Regions from separate parts of the Homo sapiens genome. Here regions 1, 2, 3 and 5 are each linked to region 4. Evidence: promoter capture Hi-C in 16 types of primary human blood cells and fetal thymus (Javierre and others, 2016). All regions are on one chromosome and are shown on one strand. Each heading gives the region's core, a stretch centred on a gene start or on the middle of the fragment in contact. The rest is flanking DNA. Distances are from core to core; before and after follow the strand shown. Region 1 has its middle 130 kb from the start of LINC02188. Region 2 has its middle 170 kb from the start of LINC02181. Region 3 has its middle 9.4 kb from the start of LINC02181. Region 4 holds the start of FOXL1 (forkhead box L1). Region 5 has its middle 26 kb from the start of LINC02181.

Region 1 (3,426 bases), core at 589-3,088, 270 kb before region 4:
CTCAGCCTCCCAACATTTATGTTGGGATTACAGGCGTGAGCCACTGAGCCTGGCCAAAGCCTTGCAGCTTTAATGCTGCGGGAGTTGTAACCTTGACAACAAAATTGAACAATTTTCATTTTTCCTTTGTGATTTATCTATTTTAAACACTTTTGCCCCCCTAAACAAGGAAACTGGCCTCTGAATTCTAGAAATGGAACATATACATTTGCCACCCCCATGCCTCTTCCTGTCTCTAATCAGTCCAGTGGGTCCACCCTTTGGAAAATCGTGATGTGTTAGGAGGGCCTGCAGGACATTTTTAGTGCCTGACAACATCCTACCTCTTCCTCTCCCTATAGGATTGTGTGATATGCACCTTGTTCAATACTTAACATTTCAGTTAATTTTTTAAGTTTATTTTTTATTTTTTGAGATGGAGTCTCGCTCTGTCACCAGGCTGGAATGCAGTGGCGCGATCTTGGCTCACTGCAACCTCTGCCTCCTGGGTTCAAGCGATTCTCCTGCCTCAACGTCCCAAGTAGCTGGGACTACAGGTGCGTGCCACCATGACCAGGTAATTTTTGTATTTTTAATAGAGACGGGGTTTCACCATGTTGGCCAGGATGGTCTCGATCTGTTGACCTCGTGATCTGCCCGCCTCGGCCTCCCAAAGTGCTGGGATTATAGGTGTGAGCTTTTACACAAAGATTTTTGAAATAATTTTGCAAATATTGTGAGCTCTGGGGGTGGGTTAGAGTTGGGACCTCCATCTACACTCTGGCTACGCTTCCTTTCTCCAGGCCCAGGTCAGGCAAGTCTCAAGCACACAGTCTGAAGGCAGCTTCACATTTCTTCTGAACACAGGCTGTCATCCCAGTGCTGGAAGTCAGTGAGATCAAGCTCATCTGCGATTCTTGGAGATGCTGAAGCCAAAACAATGCCAAGCTTCTATCTTCCAACTTCATCCCTTCACTTCCACTGGCCCCACAGTGAAAGTACCAAGCTAATGCGCATGGATCAAGTTCCTTCCTCCCCTGGAAACATTAGCTGCCTGAGGGCAGGGGCTTTCACTGTCTCATTCTGTGACACATCACTAGCCTGACTCAACCCATGTTGGTGTTAGCAGTCTGTATCCTGCTCACTAAATCTATTTGGGGAAATTACTGTCCACAACCATCCAATGGCCTTGCTTCTCCTTGGCAGTGATGATGATGTTGGTGATGGTGATGACGATAGTGATGGTGATGGTGTTGATGGTGATGGTGATGGTGATGGTGATGATGGTTATGATGATGATGGTGATGACGGTAATGATGATGGTGATGATGTTGATGATGGTGATGGTGATGATGGTGATGGTGATGTTGGTGATGATGGTGATGTGATAGTGATGGTGACAGTGATGATGGTGATGGTGATGATGATGGTGATGGTGATGGTGGTGATGATGGTGATGGTGATAGTGATGGTGACAGTGATGATGTTGATGGTGGTGATCATGGTGGTGATGATGGTGATGGTGGTGATGATGGTGATAGTGATAGTGATGGTGACAGTGATGGTGGTGATGATGGTGATGGTGATAGTGATGGTGACAGTGATGGTGGTGATGATGGTGATGGTGATGATGGTGATGATGGTGATGGTGATGATGATGGTGATGGTGATAGTGATGGTGACAGTGATGATGGTTATGGTGGTGATGATGGTGGTGATGATGATGGTGATGATGACGATGTTGGCAGTAATGATGATGATAATGGTGATAAGTTTTTTCTTTTTTATTACCATGACCATTACTAGAACTAATGAAGTAAGTTAATCTGTAGTCACAAGGGTTTGCGAACATTTCCAGCAGCAAGACCACTTCTTTTCTATATGTCCTCACCCTAAATTGTGGAAGATGTTATAAAGAAGCTCATTGTCTGTCTCTGATCAGTTTGGGTCCAGGAAGGAAATGCCCTGAGGCAGATGGAAAGAGAAGTCCGTGTGTCCTGGAACGGAGGCTTAGCTGAGGGGGTCAGTGAGAGAGGCCAGCACTTGGAAGCTAAGGAGCACCCCCTGCCCAGCCACTTGGGGTCGGCTCCTCCTTCCCCACACATGGCACACACACCTGCCAGCTGGCCTTTGCTTTGCCAGCCTTTGTCCTGAAATGCCCTTTGTCCTTTCCGCCAAATCATCCTGCAGGTTGAAACTAGGTCCAAGTGCATCGAGCTGTCACCAGGTGCCTAGAACTGTCCCATTTCATCCTCTCAATAACTCTATGACATAGGGAAGGTAGGCACATGACCTCCATTTCACAGATGAGGAAAGTGAGGTTTCCAGAAGGGAATTCATTTGTCCAAAGTCACCCTGCTAATATTCAGTAGACCCCACAGTCCCCTCTCCCCATGCGCTTTTTGAGGCACCTTTAGGTTTCTTGGAACCGAGTTCAAAAACCACTGACCTTGTTTCTCTCTTATGGGCTTTTCCAGCCTGTGATGTGGTTATTTTTACAACTTTGGTCCTCTCTTTTGGTCCTGAGATGGTAAGACGTGGATGAAATTCAACACACCCTGTACCCAATAGGGCTCACCAGTGGCTTTGAAGGCAAAATGTTTTCTTTCGTAAATCTAGAATTTAGAAAATAAATTCTTCTTCCCCACAGGCAGATGCTGACCCACCCACTAAGGCTGAGGCCAAAGAAAATTCTCCGATGACAAGGCTCTGCAGGTGCCATACGGAGCGAGTGCTTTTCAGGCAGTTGGCGGAGCCCAAAGCAAGCTTCCCCCAGAGCATCCGAAGGGGCCACTTGGCTGCGGTCGCCATCGCGAGAACAACAGGAAACTGAGCAGGGGCTGCTGTCGTCCTGGGCAGGACAGCTCTCCATTTCCCTTCAGGCCTGGCATTGTTTTGCTGATGGAAGAAAAGTGGAATGGGGCGTGATCACACTGCCGGCTCAGCAGCTGGAAAGCTCATGTGTTTGCTTAAATGTGCACAAGTTGAGGTCCCTCTGTGCTGCTGATCCCCACCCCCTCTCACCACAGGGTGTTTTCTGATCACCAAATGTATGTTGGTTAGAAGACTTGGCAGTTCTCTGGCCCCAGAGGTAGAGCTAGAAGTTGACGCAGAGTCTCAAGTGGCAACTCTGTTGTCTATGCTGTCTGTTGGTGATGATGGGCCGGGCGTCCCAGGAGGAAGATGACTTTCCAAGGTCCCTTTCTGAGGCGGGATGGCGCAGGGGAGACACTGGCAAGGAGAATGAGGGTTGGGGGAGCTCCAGGGCTCCTCTGCTCCTGAGTGTCAGTGGAGGGTGGACATTGACCAGACCAAAGAGTCTTTGAAACAGGGTCATGGGCAACCATAACTGCATTCCAAGAGGCCCAAAAGACGGAAGGCCCAGGAGACCCCCAAGAATGAGTGTGTGATGAGCAGCCAGGCCCTAATCACCCAAGTCCTGGCTTT
Region 2 (3,283 bases), core at 37-2,536, 310 kb before region 4:
TTTTCAAGTTATACAGAGAAAAGTTATTTTCCCTTACATTATATAATATCATAAAATGGAATGTTTGAAACTTTTTAGACTTTAAATCTAACTGGATTGCTGTCCGTCCTACATCTCCACTCTAGTGGTTCAAATTGCCCGCCCTGAAGGTGGGGGAGTGCATGGTCCCTTCCCAGCGAGCACCTCACGCCTAAAGCTTTAGGATGGGGAACCCACCCATGGCCTCCTGAAGCATTAGGATGGGGGAACCCGCTCATGGCCTCCTAAAGCTTTAGGATGGGGGAACCCGCCCATAGCCTCCTAAAGCATTAGGATGGGGAACCCGCCCACGGCCTCCTAAAGCATTAGGATGGGGAACCCGCCCACGACCTCCTAAAGCTTTAGGATGGGGAACCCGCCCACAGCCTCCTGAAGCTTTAGGACGGGGAACCCACCCATGGTCTCCTAAAGCTTTAGGATGGGGGAACCCGCCCACGGCCTCCTTGTGCAGGTGCCTGACTTTGGTGCACCATTGAACCTTGCAGTCACTGTTCTGGGATATTCCCCAGGAAGCTGGGCTCTAGGGCCAAAAGAGCTGGTTTACTCATGGGAACAGGCCTCAGGGATCGGCACGCAGTCCCAGTGCCACCGCTCTGCACCCCATGCTTCTCCCACGTAGAATAAATGCCAAGCCGTGGAAAGGGAAAACAGAAAACAGGGACAGCCGCCACCCAAAATGCTCAACTGCAAATGAAATAAATCATGCATGTTCTCAAAACACAACAGAAAAAGGCGTTTGGGGTGAACTGGGCTGTTTATCTCCATCCCTTCTGTGTGTTTGGTGATAAAGATCTTACTTGGAAACTTTCACAGAGATTAGGACACATTTTCCAGTTCACAATGACAGATATTAGAAAATCGTTAGCTGACTTGGCTACGAGACAGCACAGGAAGGGTTTCCTCTTCATTTTTAGCCATAGTAATAATAGCATCAGCCAATTTGAGAAAAGATCAAATGGAATAGCTGATTCGAATTATCCAACGTAATGGTCCAATGTGCTAAATTAACTGTGAAATCTTCTAATTTTATTCAGGCGTGTAAATAACATTTTTGTGCCTAAGTACATCCAATGGCATGTTTTCAACTAGTTTTCAACAGGCATTCTACATTCAGAGAGGCCCACATTACTAGGGTTCAGAACCCAGGCTCTGGGACCAGATGCTTGGGTTCAAATCCTGCCTCTGCCACTTCCTGCCTGGGTCAGCCTCTAGCAACTTCCTCTCTCTGTGCCTCCGTCTGCTTCTTGGAACAAAGGGAGTAAGGATCATAGTGCCCTCACTGTGCATGGGAGGCTCTGTGGGATTTTGATTTTCACAAAATCGCTTAGTTTCCAACACATGGAAAGTACATAGTAGAAGCTAGAGATGATGGGGAGGAGGAGAATGGTATTTCCTTAATGTACACTGAGCTGTTTGCACCCATAGGTGCCATACAAGTGTGAAACACACACGGGTTCAATTAATTCTCCCAGAAACATTGTTGTTCCTATCTTTTGATCGGAATAGATGAGGTCTAGGGAAGTTAGGAGACTGGAGAGCGGTTGGACCCAGGCCTGTTGGGATCGACTAAGGCCTCTCATGGCCAGTGTTGGGATAGAGATGGACAGGATGTGACCCCTGACTCTAGGGGTCCATGATCCCCCAACAGGCAGGAGGGTACAGATGATCATAAGACAACGTTCTAGTGCTGGCATCCGGGATAGCAGGCGTCATCATTTGAACCCACAGACACCCTGTCATATGTTGGGAGCAGAGACTCTCACATTCATGCAATTAAAGATGTTTTAATTGGCCTATTGGTTGGTTCCAGGCATGAGAATCATCATAGCGCCTGTGAACTGGGTCCAGAAATGAGTCACCATCTCACCTGTTGGCTGGGCACTGGTAGGAGAGTCACATCTCCAACTTTTGACTGCGTTCAGGTGTGAGATTCAGGACCTCACCAGTGGGATGTGTCCACGTGTGAGGGTGACCAACTCCACATGTCTGTGCCCTAACTTAAGTTTATCTACTAATGACTACTTAATTTGCCAATGAGAAGACCAGGTTTCAGTTATCATTTGCAGTCTCAGGTAAAGCTTTGCTTGTTTTTAACTCAATTTCTTCTTTTAATTGACACAATAATTGTACTCATTTAAGCTTAAGTGAGGTTATTGTCCTCAATAGCTCTTAACACAATTTACATCGTAAGTCTTTAGTCATTAGACTTATGATGCTCTTTGATTATAATGAATGTCCCTAATAACATCAAGTGGTTTTGCATCATGTATTTAACATCTATCTATCAATCTATCTATCTATCTATCTATCTATCTAATCTATCATCTATCTCTATCATCTGTCTATATCATCTATGTATCCATCTCTATCATTTGTCTATCTCTATTATCTATTTCTATCTCCGTCTCTCCATCCATCCATCCATCCATCCATCCATCCATTCATTCATCCATTCATCCATCCATCCATCCATCCATCCATCCATCCATTCATCCATCCATTCATCCATCCATCCATCCATCCATCCATCCATCCATTCATCCATCCATTCATTCATCCATCCATTCATTCATCCATCCATCCATCCATTCATCCATCCATCCATCCATTCATCCATCCATCCATCCATTCATCCATCCATTCATTCATCCATCCTTTCATTCATCCATCCATCCATCCATCCATCCATCCATCCATCCATCCATTCATCCATCCATTCATTCATCCATCCATTCATCCATCCATCCATCCATCCATCCATCCATCCATCCATTCATCCATCCATTCATTCATCTATTCATCCATCCATTCATTCATCCATCCATTCATCCATCCATCCATTCATCCATCCATTCATCCATCCATCCATCCATTCATCCATCCATTCATTCATCCATCCATCCATTCATCCATCCATCCATCCATTCATCCATCCATCCATCCATTCATTCATCCATCCATCCATTCATCCATCCATTCATCCATCCATCCATCCATCCATTCATCCATCCATCCTTACATCCATCCCCAGCCTCCTGCTAAAGATTAGCAGACACTTGTTAAATAAACAAACAGATAGAAAACCGCAGTCCACAAAGGCACCCTCAATATTTGATTGGTCTTTGACAATGGAGACTTTCAGATACACCCAGGGATTACAGAATCAAATGGTGAAATTGGTTTCGTTTATTTACTGGGGAAGCAAGCCATGCTTGTTATATCAATGAATCATCAGGGCTGGCTC
Region 3 (3,244 bases), core at 482-2,981, 470 kb before region 4:
ATAAATTGGTCACTCGCTGATGATGGCACCACTTGTGTAATTTAAGGCCTTGTTCTTCTATATTTCCTGTCAAAGAACTTCTAACAGAGGAGGATCCCCTTTCCAGGAGTGTGGGCCATAGACCAAAACCTGCCCAAGCACCAGCGTTTGGGCATTTCTTTATGTGAAAAGTCTGAGCCCATTTGTTCCATATTCCTGACTATATACACATTTATTGTTGAAAGCCATTGCTTCCTCTTCCCCCACTCTTATTTTGGTAAAAATGATAATATTGGATCATCATGTTGATCTTGGGTCTTGATATGGTTTTGCTGTGTCCTCACCCAAATCTCACCTTGAATCGTAGCTCCCATAATTCCCTTGTGTTGTGGGAGGGACCAGGTGGGAGATAACTGAATCATGGGGGTGGTTTCCCCCATACTGTTCTCATGGTACTGAATAAGTCTCATGAGATCTGATGGCTTTATAAGGGGAAACCCCTTTTGCTTGGTTCTCTGATTCTCTCTTGTCTGCCACCATGTAAGACACTCTTTTCACTTTTTGCCAAGATTGTGAAACCTCCCCAGCCACGTGGAACTGTGAGCCATTAGACCTCTCCCCAGCCACGTGGAACTGTGAGCCATTAGACCTCTCCCCAGCCACGTGGAACTGTGAGCCATTAGACCTCTCCCCAGCCACGTGGAACTGTGAGCCATTAGACCTCTTTTTCTTTGTAAATGACCCAGTCTCGGGTATGTCTTTATCAGCAGCGTGAAAACAGACTAATATAGGTCTTCTCCGAGCCTCTTGTTTGAAAAGCCAAATGGATCTGAAGGTGGTAACATGAAGTGCAATCTCCTCTTCCTCAGTATCAGTCATTTGCACCTTAGCAAGAATGGGACACAATCTTAAGGGCAAGTTTTCAATGACAACACGAGATGAGACACCCTAAAACCCAAGGTCCCTGTGCAGGTCGGGAGAAGGGAATACTGACCTCTAAAAAGAGTCAAATGTAACGCAGAGTCGGAATAAGTATATTTGTCAGTTTCTCTCTGGGGTCTTGGCCTCCCCATCACTCTCTGCTGTGGGAGCTGCTGTTACTAGAATCCTCTTGGCAAAGATTGGGGACGAGAGGCTTCCATGGAAACTTCCGTCCCCGGCCAGGCGCTCAGTGTTCGTCTCTCCTTGGTTTCCTTCTGCTCCAACCCAGGGCAGAGGAAGCTTCTGATGTGCTGCTCTTTTGTACCTGCCCATTTTCACAGGTTTGTCAGAGCATGAGAAGTATCAGTGCCTGGGCTCTTCTTAAAATATTTGGACTTTTCCAAGCCCTTACACAAACCTTTAGCTTGGCTTAGTAGGTACAACATGTCTACTGTGTATTAATAAAGTTTTTATCAAATTGTTTTTAAAAATCCAATGGAATCTTGGTTGTATACATTCAGAGTGTCTGCTTCCTCACTTAGTTTCAAATCCCATTCCCACTACTGGCCAGCTGTGTGACTTTGGGTAAGTTAGTTAACCTCTCTGTGCCACAGTTTTCTATAAATGGGGGAGAAAAACAGTGCTTAGGTTATTGTGAGGATTAATAAGTGAGTATGTGTGAAGTGCTGGAAATGGTTCCTGGTACATGTGACTTCCATAACTATTGGAGGGGTTTGTCCCCATCCCTGGAAAGAACAATGTGATTTTCAAAACAGACACTGGACTGTGATCCGTTGCAGTGCGAGACCACTCTGCCGTGTGCTGAAAGCCTCACTATAGTAACTCCAGCTCACGGAAACTCAAAGGGGTGAATTGACAGACAGTCACATACGGGTTTTTGGCAGCAGGTTGATCCCCATGTGGGGTGCCCCCCTGTTTGTGCTGATGGAGAAACAGTGCCTCCCGGGGGGCTGCCCCGGGGCAGGCAGGCCGCGGACAAAGCTGTAGGGGGACATGATGGGGTCTGAGCCTCTAGCTTGCTGTTTCCAGAAACAGCATGCTTTGAGCTTGCAGAACTGTCTGGCCCCCCAAATGCACTTGGGTCTCAGGGCCTCTGGGCCTGTGATCTCCCTAGGCAGGCCCCAGGGGCCTGTGTGCAGGGCCCCTCTGTTTGGGGTGGGACGCATGTCATTTGTCAGTGGCATGGGGTGACTTGCTGGGCACCCCTTGCAGCGAGCTTGCGGAGTTCAAGGCTGGGCGCACCTCAGCTCTCATTATCAGATCTAATTGTGGGCTCGGATTTCACAAATCGGGGCCTGTGCAGGTGGAGGACAAGCGGCAGAGGTCATGCCTAAAAGCTTATTAAGCTGCCGGTGTGAAAGGTAAGGCCATCTGGTTGCCATTTGACAACTTAAGTGGTAATTACACCATTTGGCACAGGAATTAGTGAGAGCTGGGGCTTGAACTGTGGCAGGGACCACTTTTTTTTCTGCAGGAGGGTGGCTTGGGGCAGTCCCGATCCTAGCAGCTCACAGTCCTAGCCGCTGTTTGTGGCTTACAGGTTCTCTGCCCAGCTCCTTGGATGGGCAGGCTTGATAACCAGGAACACCTGCCTTTTCAGCTCTCCTGTCCAGGGAAGGGAGGTGGGCAGCGGGGGCAGCTTCCAGCAACATTCCACCCCAGCAATATGGAAGTGCTTAAGCAGGGTTTGCACCAGGCAGGGTAGCTGAGATCTGAACCTTTAAATTACAGCCATTCCCGGGCTGAGGAAAAGTAAATAAACAGTTCACAGCTGCAGCCAACTCAACACAGAAACGGGCTATCTCTTCTGATTGCAGGGCAAGTAATTAAGTGAGAAATGTGAGCCCTGCAGTCAGGGTGAGATGGTAAAGGTCTGGAGCAGTAAGTCCACCCAACTCCAGAGACCTTCCGATTAACCCTCGCAGAGCCAGGAGGGGAGAGGGACGCGCAGGCTTGGAGGTGAAGCCCAGATGAGGGGCACTGGCTTTGTGATTGTCAAAAGCCAGCTAACTATAAATGACCTTACCTCGCTGTGCTTGGCTGAGGGAATACGCTGAGGGTGAGAATCCGCGTTCTCAGCAGTCCACCCATGGACGCACGTCTCAACAGGTACTGTCTCTGTTTACTCATTATAGGCTGAATTTTGTTCCTGATAAATTCCTGTGTGGAAGCTCTAGCCCCGGGCCCTCAGAATGTCACCATGTTTGGAGATAGGGTCTTTAAGGAGGTGCTTAACTTAAAGTGAGTCATTGGGCCCTAATCCAATGACTGGTGTCCCCATAGAACAGGGGATGAGGACACAGACACATACAGAGGGATGACC
Region 4 (3,622 bases), core at 416-2,915:
GCAACAGCGAAGCAGGCGACGGTCATACGGGGGTCCCCGGTCGAAAGGACCTCAACTGCACCTGTAAGGCCTGCCTTGGGTGGTCTGCGGGCCCTTGCATGCCCGGGACTCGCAGGACCTGCGGTGGGCGGCTGAAGACCACACTCCATTAGACAGGTCAAACGTCAAGGAATCTCCCGCGGTGGAGGTCCCTGCAGGGCCCACGTGCGGTGCCCACGACCCCGCGGGGATCTTTTAAGTCTCCGTAGCTGCTCCCAGTTGCTGGGAAAAGTTTGCTTCGGAGAAGGCAGGCGAGCGCGCCCACCTGCGCGCAATGGTTGGTAACACTTCCCTGAACCCACAGGCCGACCCAGGCAAAGATCATTTTAAAATCCTCCGCCGGTGGGAGCTGTGGCCTTTCGCTCAGCGGAGGCTCAGGCTGGGCCGGGAGAAGAACCGTGCCATTGTTTGCTTTACTGGAAGTGGAGTACCGTGTCGGGAACCTGCAGGGGGAAATAAGAGAGGAAGGGGATCCCGAGCTGGTAAAAGCCGCCCTGGACATGCGGGTCGAGCATCAGGGAAGCGTTGAAAGGCGGACGGAGGCTGGAGGAGGCGGCCAGGAGCGAGGCACCCAGACGGCCGCCGGGCCCAGGCTTGGCACCCCCTAGGAGTTCGTCCCCTGAAGGCGGCTTCTGGCCCTGCTTTCCCGCCAGGATGCTGTCTATGCTGAAGCTCTTGGACTTGTCGGAGCTCTTCGGAGAGCTGCGGGAGGCGGGGCGCAGAGGGGACCCCGGGCCGTCCCCTGTGCGCGCTGCCTGGCCGACCGCCACGGCCGCTGCGCCCTGGGCAGCGTCACCAGCGTCCTCGTTCGGGGACGCGGTCCCCGGCCAGTGGAGGGGCGCCGGCGGAGAGGGGCCGTCCAGGAGGGGCGAGGGGCCCGCGGGCGCTGCCTGCAGGCGGGAGATTGCGGGGCCCGAGCCCCCTGCCCCGCTCCCCGCCTCCGGCTGCGCCTCCGCGCTGCGCTGGTGCGTCTCGGCGCGGGGCCTCTTGGCCTCCGGGGCCCCGGGGCCCGGCTTGGGCTTCCTCTTCCGGCGCCGGTAGTTGCCGTTCTCAAACATGTCCAGGCAGCGGGGGTCCAGCGTCCAGTAGCTGCCCTTGCCCGGCCGCCCTTTCTCGCGGGGCACCTTGACGAAGCAGTCGTTGAGCGAGAGGTTGTGGCGGATGCTGTTCTGCCAGCCCTGCCGGTTGTCGTGGTAGAAGGGGAAGCGGTCCATGATGAACTGGTAGATGCCGTTGAGCGTGACCCTCTGCTCGGGCGCGTCCTGGATCGCCATGGCGATGAGCGCGATGTAGCTGTAGGGAGGCTTCTGCGGGGTCTCGGCCCGGCCCGAGGCAGCTAGAGCAGCCGCGGGGGCGAAGGCCAGAGGGAGGCCGGGTCTCTCGGGACCGTACAGATACAGCATGGGCGAGGCGGCCAGGGCAGGCAGCCGGGGATCGAAGAGGTGACTCATGGCAAGCGAGAGCCTGCGCTGCGCTCCCCGCAACGCAGGAGACCCGGGCGGCCTAGGCACTGCGCCCCGCGCCGCAAGGGCCCTCCCGGGGAGCCAGCCGTGCCTCTGCCTCTGGCTCTGCCGCTCTCCCCGGCCGCTCCGTGCTCTGTCCCTTCTTCATGGCTTTAAAAATGTTAAATAATTGTTGTAAGTTTGCTGTTATATGTTGACTTAGCCCTGGAAAATAAATTGTCTATGATAAACAGTCCTTGTGTTCTCAGCCCACCCACATTAATTAAAATTTCATTGCTGAAAAACTCCAAGCTTTTCCCTCCACGTGTCTTTTTGATACCAGCCAATCGGTTTTGGGGCTATTCCTTCATTTGTTTATAGAATTAGTCTGTTGATAAGTCCGCCCACCCAAGTTGAATCAAGCTGTGTTTATTTGGAAAAATTTCCGGGCACCCAATATATAAACGCACTGATCTGATGTTTGAAATATCACGTCCACCCCTTGACGCTGTAAGCACACACAGTCAGTGAGGCAGGATGTAGACTGCGGTGGCTCAGAGCAGGGTCTGCTGAGCCAGGAAGGAGAGGTGGAGATGGGGGTGGGTGTGCAGGGATGAGTTTTACGCTGGCCTGGGGGAGCCCCATAACGCCAGGGCCTCCCACAAAAGGTCTTTTCTTCTCCCAGGCTTAACCGGAGATATCGAGATGCCACAGTCTAGTAAAACACTTTCTGAGGTCCTAGGAACCTTTTAGATTGGGGCAGGGAGAGTATCTAAGAAGCCTGAGTGTCTGCTGAGAAGGGGATGCGGCCCTCCCTGGAAAAACAGGTGGCAGACCCAGTAGGAGGTGGCACTCTCTAGGGACCTGCTCTCCCACACCCTCCCTTCCAGGGCTCTCCGGAAATCGGAGGGAAAGTGGACTCTGGGAGCCCAGTCTCTCTGGAAGGGAAGGCCTAAGGCACTGGGGGCCTGGGGAAGAGCTCATGGTCCACAGCTCCATTGAGGAAGGTTTCAAAATAAACCCATTTAGAGAACCGGGGGCAAAAGTAAGGTCCTCCTGATGGGGCCAAGGTTGCAAGAGAGGAACACCATAAAAGGAGGCCGTGGCAGCTGGCGCGGGAGGCCTGGTATTTGTGAATGTGGGTCTCCAGCTTTATATTCTGGGCTTTCCTGTTTATAACAAGGAGGGGGTTATAACAACTTTACAAGTGCATGCAGCTGGCCCGTGATTACATTAGGCATTTGGGAAGCCTGCTTGCTCTCCCTGTATCCACCCACCCTGGGGTGTACGCGGCCCTCCACCCCCATCTCATTTTACATTTTCCCACATCACTGTTTGAATAAAAAATCCTGAATCATGCTGATTTCGAAGGGGGCCTCTCCTCCCCACTCCACCGGTTAGGGTAAGGGTAGAGGCACCTAGTGTGACTACTTCCTGTTTATGACCACCCCCTGAATATTAAAACACACACACACTGTCACACACACACCCACACACACACACACACATTCGGATAACTGGCGTCTCATTGAGCAAATCGTGTGAGCATGTCAAAGAGATGAGGGAAGGGGGAGGATGGCAGGTGGGTGTAGAAATGGCCCACTGCCAGTGGGCCAGGAAGGAGGGAGAGGCACCGAGGGCACTTACAGGGGTAGGGGGAGTGTCTGCCGCTGCCACACCCGGCTGAGGATGTGAGTGCCCAGGTAGCCTCTGAACACGGAAACGTGGCGGGCATCCTTTTTCAAAATGAGAAAATCAGAAATAACCCGTGTGTTTGGGGTTCCTGGGTATCCAGCCCATGGAATAAGTAGACCGCAGGGGAGCGGGTAAATTTAAAATACCAAAAAGGAAGTCGCAGGAAGGGTGGAAAAACCGGCCTGGGTACCGGCACTGCCTGCGGGAGCGACAGGCCAGTCCCTGGGACACCTCGGGCCTCCCTCCGCGGCCCTGCTCCTCTAACGTGGGTCCAGCGAGCAGCCCGGCCGCGCCCGCCTAGGTCCTGGGGGTGAACCTCTGGCCAGGAGGGGCGAGGCTTTGTCTTTTCGTTACCACTCGCTCTCACCCGCGTACCCCTTTCAAACTTGGGGTGAAGAAACCTCAATGCCAGCGCCTTTGCAACCCGCAGGCCCCACAGTCTCTGG
Region 5 (3,389 bases), core at 787-3,286, 450 kb before region 4:
GAAGGGTCTGGTAGCCTGCTGGTTGGGGGACGGGAGTCGGGAGGTCCATGCGGGAGGGAGGGGGATTACCCCTTGGAGCAATGGAGGATTTGGAATGTTGTGGCTCTCAGAGTCGGGGATTTGGGGAACATGACTTCTGGCACAGATGGCTGGGGGCCTCCTTCCAGCAGAGGAGGGGGCTTCCTCCGTGAGAGTCATCGCCGCCTGCTCATAAGGGCGTCTGCTGCTTCCGACAGCCAGGGTTTGAATCTTGGCCATGTTCTACTGAGTGAAAGACTGCAGAGAAGCCACTTAACCTCTCTGAGCCTTGGTCTTCTCTTGTGTAAAATGGGAATAAAATAGCACCTTCCCCCCATGGGCTGCTGTGGGGCTCACAGGGGATGACACGTTTACTGTTGGCCTCAGGGCTGGCACCCCGTGATGGGATTAAAATGCAACTCCCTTATGTAACTCGAGATTATTTTTACTCTTGAATTTATCGTGTTCGCCAAGGCAAAGGAGAGGGCCCGCCCGGTCCCTTTTACCATCCCCCGCCTGCCTTTTTGTGACTTGTTTTTCCTTTCAAGGGTGGTCTCTGTTCACTCCACTCTGATGTCACTGCCTAAAAATGTCGGGTCCTGGCTTGGGTGGTGGAAGTGGCATGCAGGGCGATCTCTCCCTGGCCAGCCCTGTGCCCCCCGGGGCCGCCCTGGCGTGGGCTCAGGAGTTCCAGGGCTCTTTCCCAGAGGGATTTATGATTCCTTCGGCCGGGGCTGGATTGCTCACTCCAGAAATAAAGCAAAGTTATGGAAAGCTGAGGCCATAGCCCTTACTTTTTTCTTCCCTTATTCATAAGATTAATGAAGCGACAGAAGAATCAGGTGCAGGCAAAGTGTCCGGACTGAACTGGGCTCCGATGTGAAGTTGTCATCAAACGGCTGTGGGGCTGGGGCCTGTCACTGCGACCTCGCTGGGCCTCAGTTTCCTCACTTGGGAGAGAGGGATTTGCACCAGCAGACATGAAAGGCGTCCTCTGCTTCACTGATTCTATTTTAGGCAGGTGAAGTGAGTGTTTCCAAAGTGTGGGACTCAAGAGGTCTCAGGTGACACGGGCATGATTATTTCGAGCTTCCACTTAAATAATTCTGCAGGACTGGAACTGAAGTAGGGCAGGTAAGATGCTTGCCTTGGGTGAAAATTTAAGAGGACATTAAAAACCCCCATAATCATTGAGATACATAATAATTTAATCCAATGTAAAACAATCAAAATGCAAAAATATTCCCGATGAACAAAATACTGAAATTTTGAACAGAGGTAGCATCCATATTATTGATGTTTTCCCTTCTGCCTCCAGCTCTAATATGGCCTGGCATATGCAAATATGCATTATTGAAACATTTCGAACACATTGCAACCCTCGACTTCACAGGTGCCACTGCCTACAAAATGGCCACATTCAAGTTTAAAAAGTGAGTTTATTAAAAGGAGAAAAGGAAAGGCTGTCTAGTGTATGGTTAATGGTAAATAGATACAGCAAAATATTATGACAATTGGAAGAAAAAGAGTATTGTGGGGGTGTGAGCTGGTGGGAGAGGGATGAGGTAGACTGCAAGCAGCTCTCTAACACCAGTCACCAGTACCTGGGAGGCTGTTTTTGTACCACAGAAGTCTGTATTAGTCTGTTCTTGAACTGCTATAAAGAAATGCCTGGGCTGGGTGTGGTGGTTCACACCTGTAATCCCAGCACTTTGGGAGGCCGAGGGCGGCAGATCACTTGAGGTCAGGAGTTGGAGACCAGCCTGCCCAACATGGCGAAACCCCATCTCTACTACAAATACAAAAAATTAGCCAGGCATGGTGATGGGTGCCTGTAATCCCAGCTACCTGGGAGGCCGAGGCAGGAGAATCGCTTGAACTTGGGAGATGGAGGTTGCAATGAGCCGAGATTGCACCATTGAACTCCAGCCTGGGCGACAAGAGCAAAACTCGGTCTCAAAAAAAAAATTAATAATAATAATGCCTGAGGCTGGGTAACTTATAAAGAAAAGAGGTTTAATTGGAAACTTACAATCATGGCGGAAGGCGAAGGGGAAGCAAATATATCTTACATGGCTGGAGCAGGAGGAAGAGAGAGAGGGGAGGGCCCCACACGCTTGTAAACGACCAGATCTCGTGAGAACTCTATCATGAGAACAGGACTAGGAGGATGGTGCCAAATTATTCCAGAGAAACCACCCCCATGATCCAGTCACCTCCCCGCAGGCCCCACCTCCAACAATGAGGATGACATTTGATGCAAAGTGTAGACAGGGACACAGACATCAAACCATATTATGGTCCACCCCTTTGACCTCAGTTAACTGGTCCCGGAGGTCACCCCACCCCCACTAGTATGATCAGAGCCTCCTGTGGGACCCAGGCTGCGCTGATGTCTTCATGGGGAGATGTGCACACGGGCGTCCTGAAGACTGCCCCTCTTGGCTCTGCGGATGGAGAAGCAGAGAAGGCAGAGAGAGGGCTGGATGCAGAAGCAGTAATTTGGGGTGGGCAACGGCCTTCCAGTTCCTGCTGCAGCCTCATCCTGGACTTCCACAGACACCCTGAGTCCTCATCACTACCCCCTCCTTTGGTATATGCCTGTTGGATTGAGTTTTTTCCTTTTAAAATGAAACAGCCCAACCAATGCAATGAGGAAGAAAAAGATAACCTACTTGGGTATTAGGGAGCAAAATCTGCAAGGTGATTTTTTTCATCTAATGTTCCCCAACTGTGGTTACATATTAGAAACATCAGAAGAACTTTTAAAAATACAGATGTCTGGGTCCCCCCAGATTCATTAAGTCAGAATCTGCTATGGTCTGAATGTTTGTGCCCCCCATTAAATTCATGTTGAGACCTAATCTCCAGTGCAATTGTATTAAGAAAGAGCTTTTAAGAGGTGATGTGGTCATGGAGGCAGAGCCCTCAAGAATGGGATTAGTGCCCTTATAAAAGCGGCCTGAGGGAGGCTGGGTGCAGTGGCTCATGCCTGTAATCCCAGCACTTTGGGACGCCAAGGTGGGAGGACTGCTCGAGGCCAGGACTTCAAGACCAGCCTGGGCAACATGGGGAAACCCCGTCTGCATTAAAAATACAAAAACAAATTAGCCAGCTGTGGTGGCATGCCCCTGTAATCCCAGCTATTCAGGAGGCTGAGGCATGAGAATTGTTTGAACCCGGGAGGTGAAGGTTGTAGTGAGCTGAGATTGTGCCACTGCACTCCAGCCTGGGTGAGACTCTGTCTGAAAAAAAAAAAAAAAAAGAGGCCTGAGGGAGTTTGTTTGCCTCTTTTTCCTGTGAGGATGCATAGAAGGCACTGTCTGTGAGGAATAGACCTTGAATCTGCCAACACCTTGATCTTGGACTTC

The links. The method cuts DNA at HindIII sites, captures the fragments that hold promoters and counts their contacts. A CHiCAGO score of 5 or more calls a contact.
Region 1: a contact is called between a fragment that was not itself captured here and the fragment with the promoter of FOXL1 in region 4, in 1 of 17 cell types (endothelial precursors). The highest score is 7.7, in endothelial precursors.
Region 2: a contact is called between a fragment that was not itself captured here and the fragment with the promoter of FOXL1 in region 4, in 1 of 17 cell types (endothelial precursors). The highest score is 8.1, in endothelial precursors.
Region 3: a contact is called between a fragment that was not itself captured here and the fragment with the promoter of FOXL1 in region 4, in 7 of 17 cell types (M0 macrophages, M1 macrophages, M2 macrophages and 4 more). The highest score is 12.2, in M0 macrophages.
Region 5: a fragment that was not itself captured here is called in contact with the fragment with the promoter of FOXL1 in region 4 in 3 of 17 cell types (erythroblasts, M1 macrophages and M0 macrophages); the score reaches 5.7 in erythroblasts.

What each region holds. Positions count from the first base shown.
Region 1 is chr16:86,850,282-86,853,707 of GRCh38, reverse strand. No RefSeq gene overlaps it. Among named protein-coding and RNA genes, the nearest start is that of LINC02188, 130 kb to the right of the region's middle. RefSeq lists an enhancer at 2,846-3,346. The HindIII fragment of the contact is 1,818 bases long and covers 930-2,747 here.
Region 2 is chr16:86,888,896-86,892,178 of GRCh38, reverse strand. No RefSeq gene overlaps it. Among named protein-coding and RNA genes, the nearest start is that of LINC02181, 170 kb to the left of the region's middle. The HindIII fragment of the contact is 1,667 bases long and covers 453-2,119 here.
Region 3 is chr16:87,046,806-87,050,049 of GRCh38, reverse strand. No RefSeq gene overlaps it. Among named protein-coding and RNA genes, the nearest start is that of LINC02181, 9.4 kb to the left of the region's middle. The HindIII fragment of the contact is 1,058 bases long and covers 1,203-2,260 here.
Region 4 is chr16:86,576,592-86,580,213 of GRCh38, reverse strand. It overlaps FOXL1 (forkhead box L1), which reads right to left and starts at 1,665. Exons shown (of 1, transcript NM_005250.3): 1 at 1-1,665. The coding sequence starts at 1,490. The coding sequence ends at 453. RefSeq lists an enhancer at 184-805. The HindIII fragment of the contact is 3,987 bases long and covers 1-1,795 here.
Region 5 is chr16:87,030,414-87,033,802 of GRCh38, reverse strand. No RefSeq gene overlaps it. Among named protein-coding and RNA genes, the nearest start is that of LINC02181, 26 kb to the left of the region's middle. RefSeq lists a silencer at 1-117. The HindIII fragment of the contact is 4,197 bases long and covers 1-3,389 here.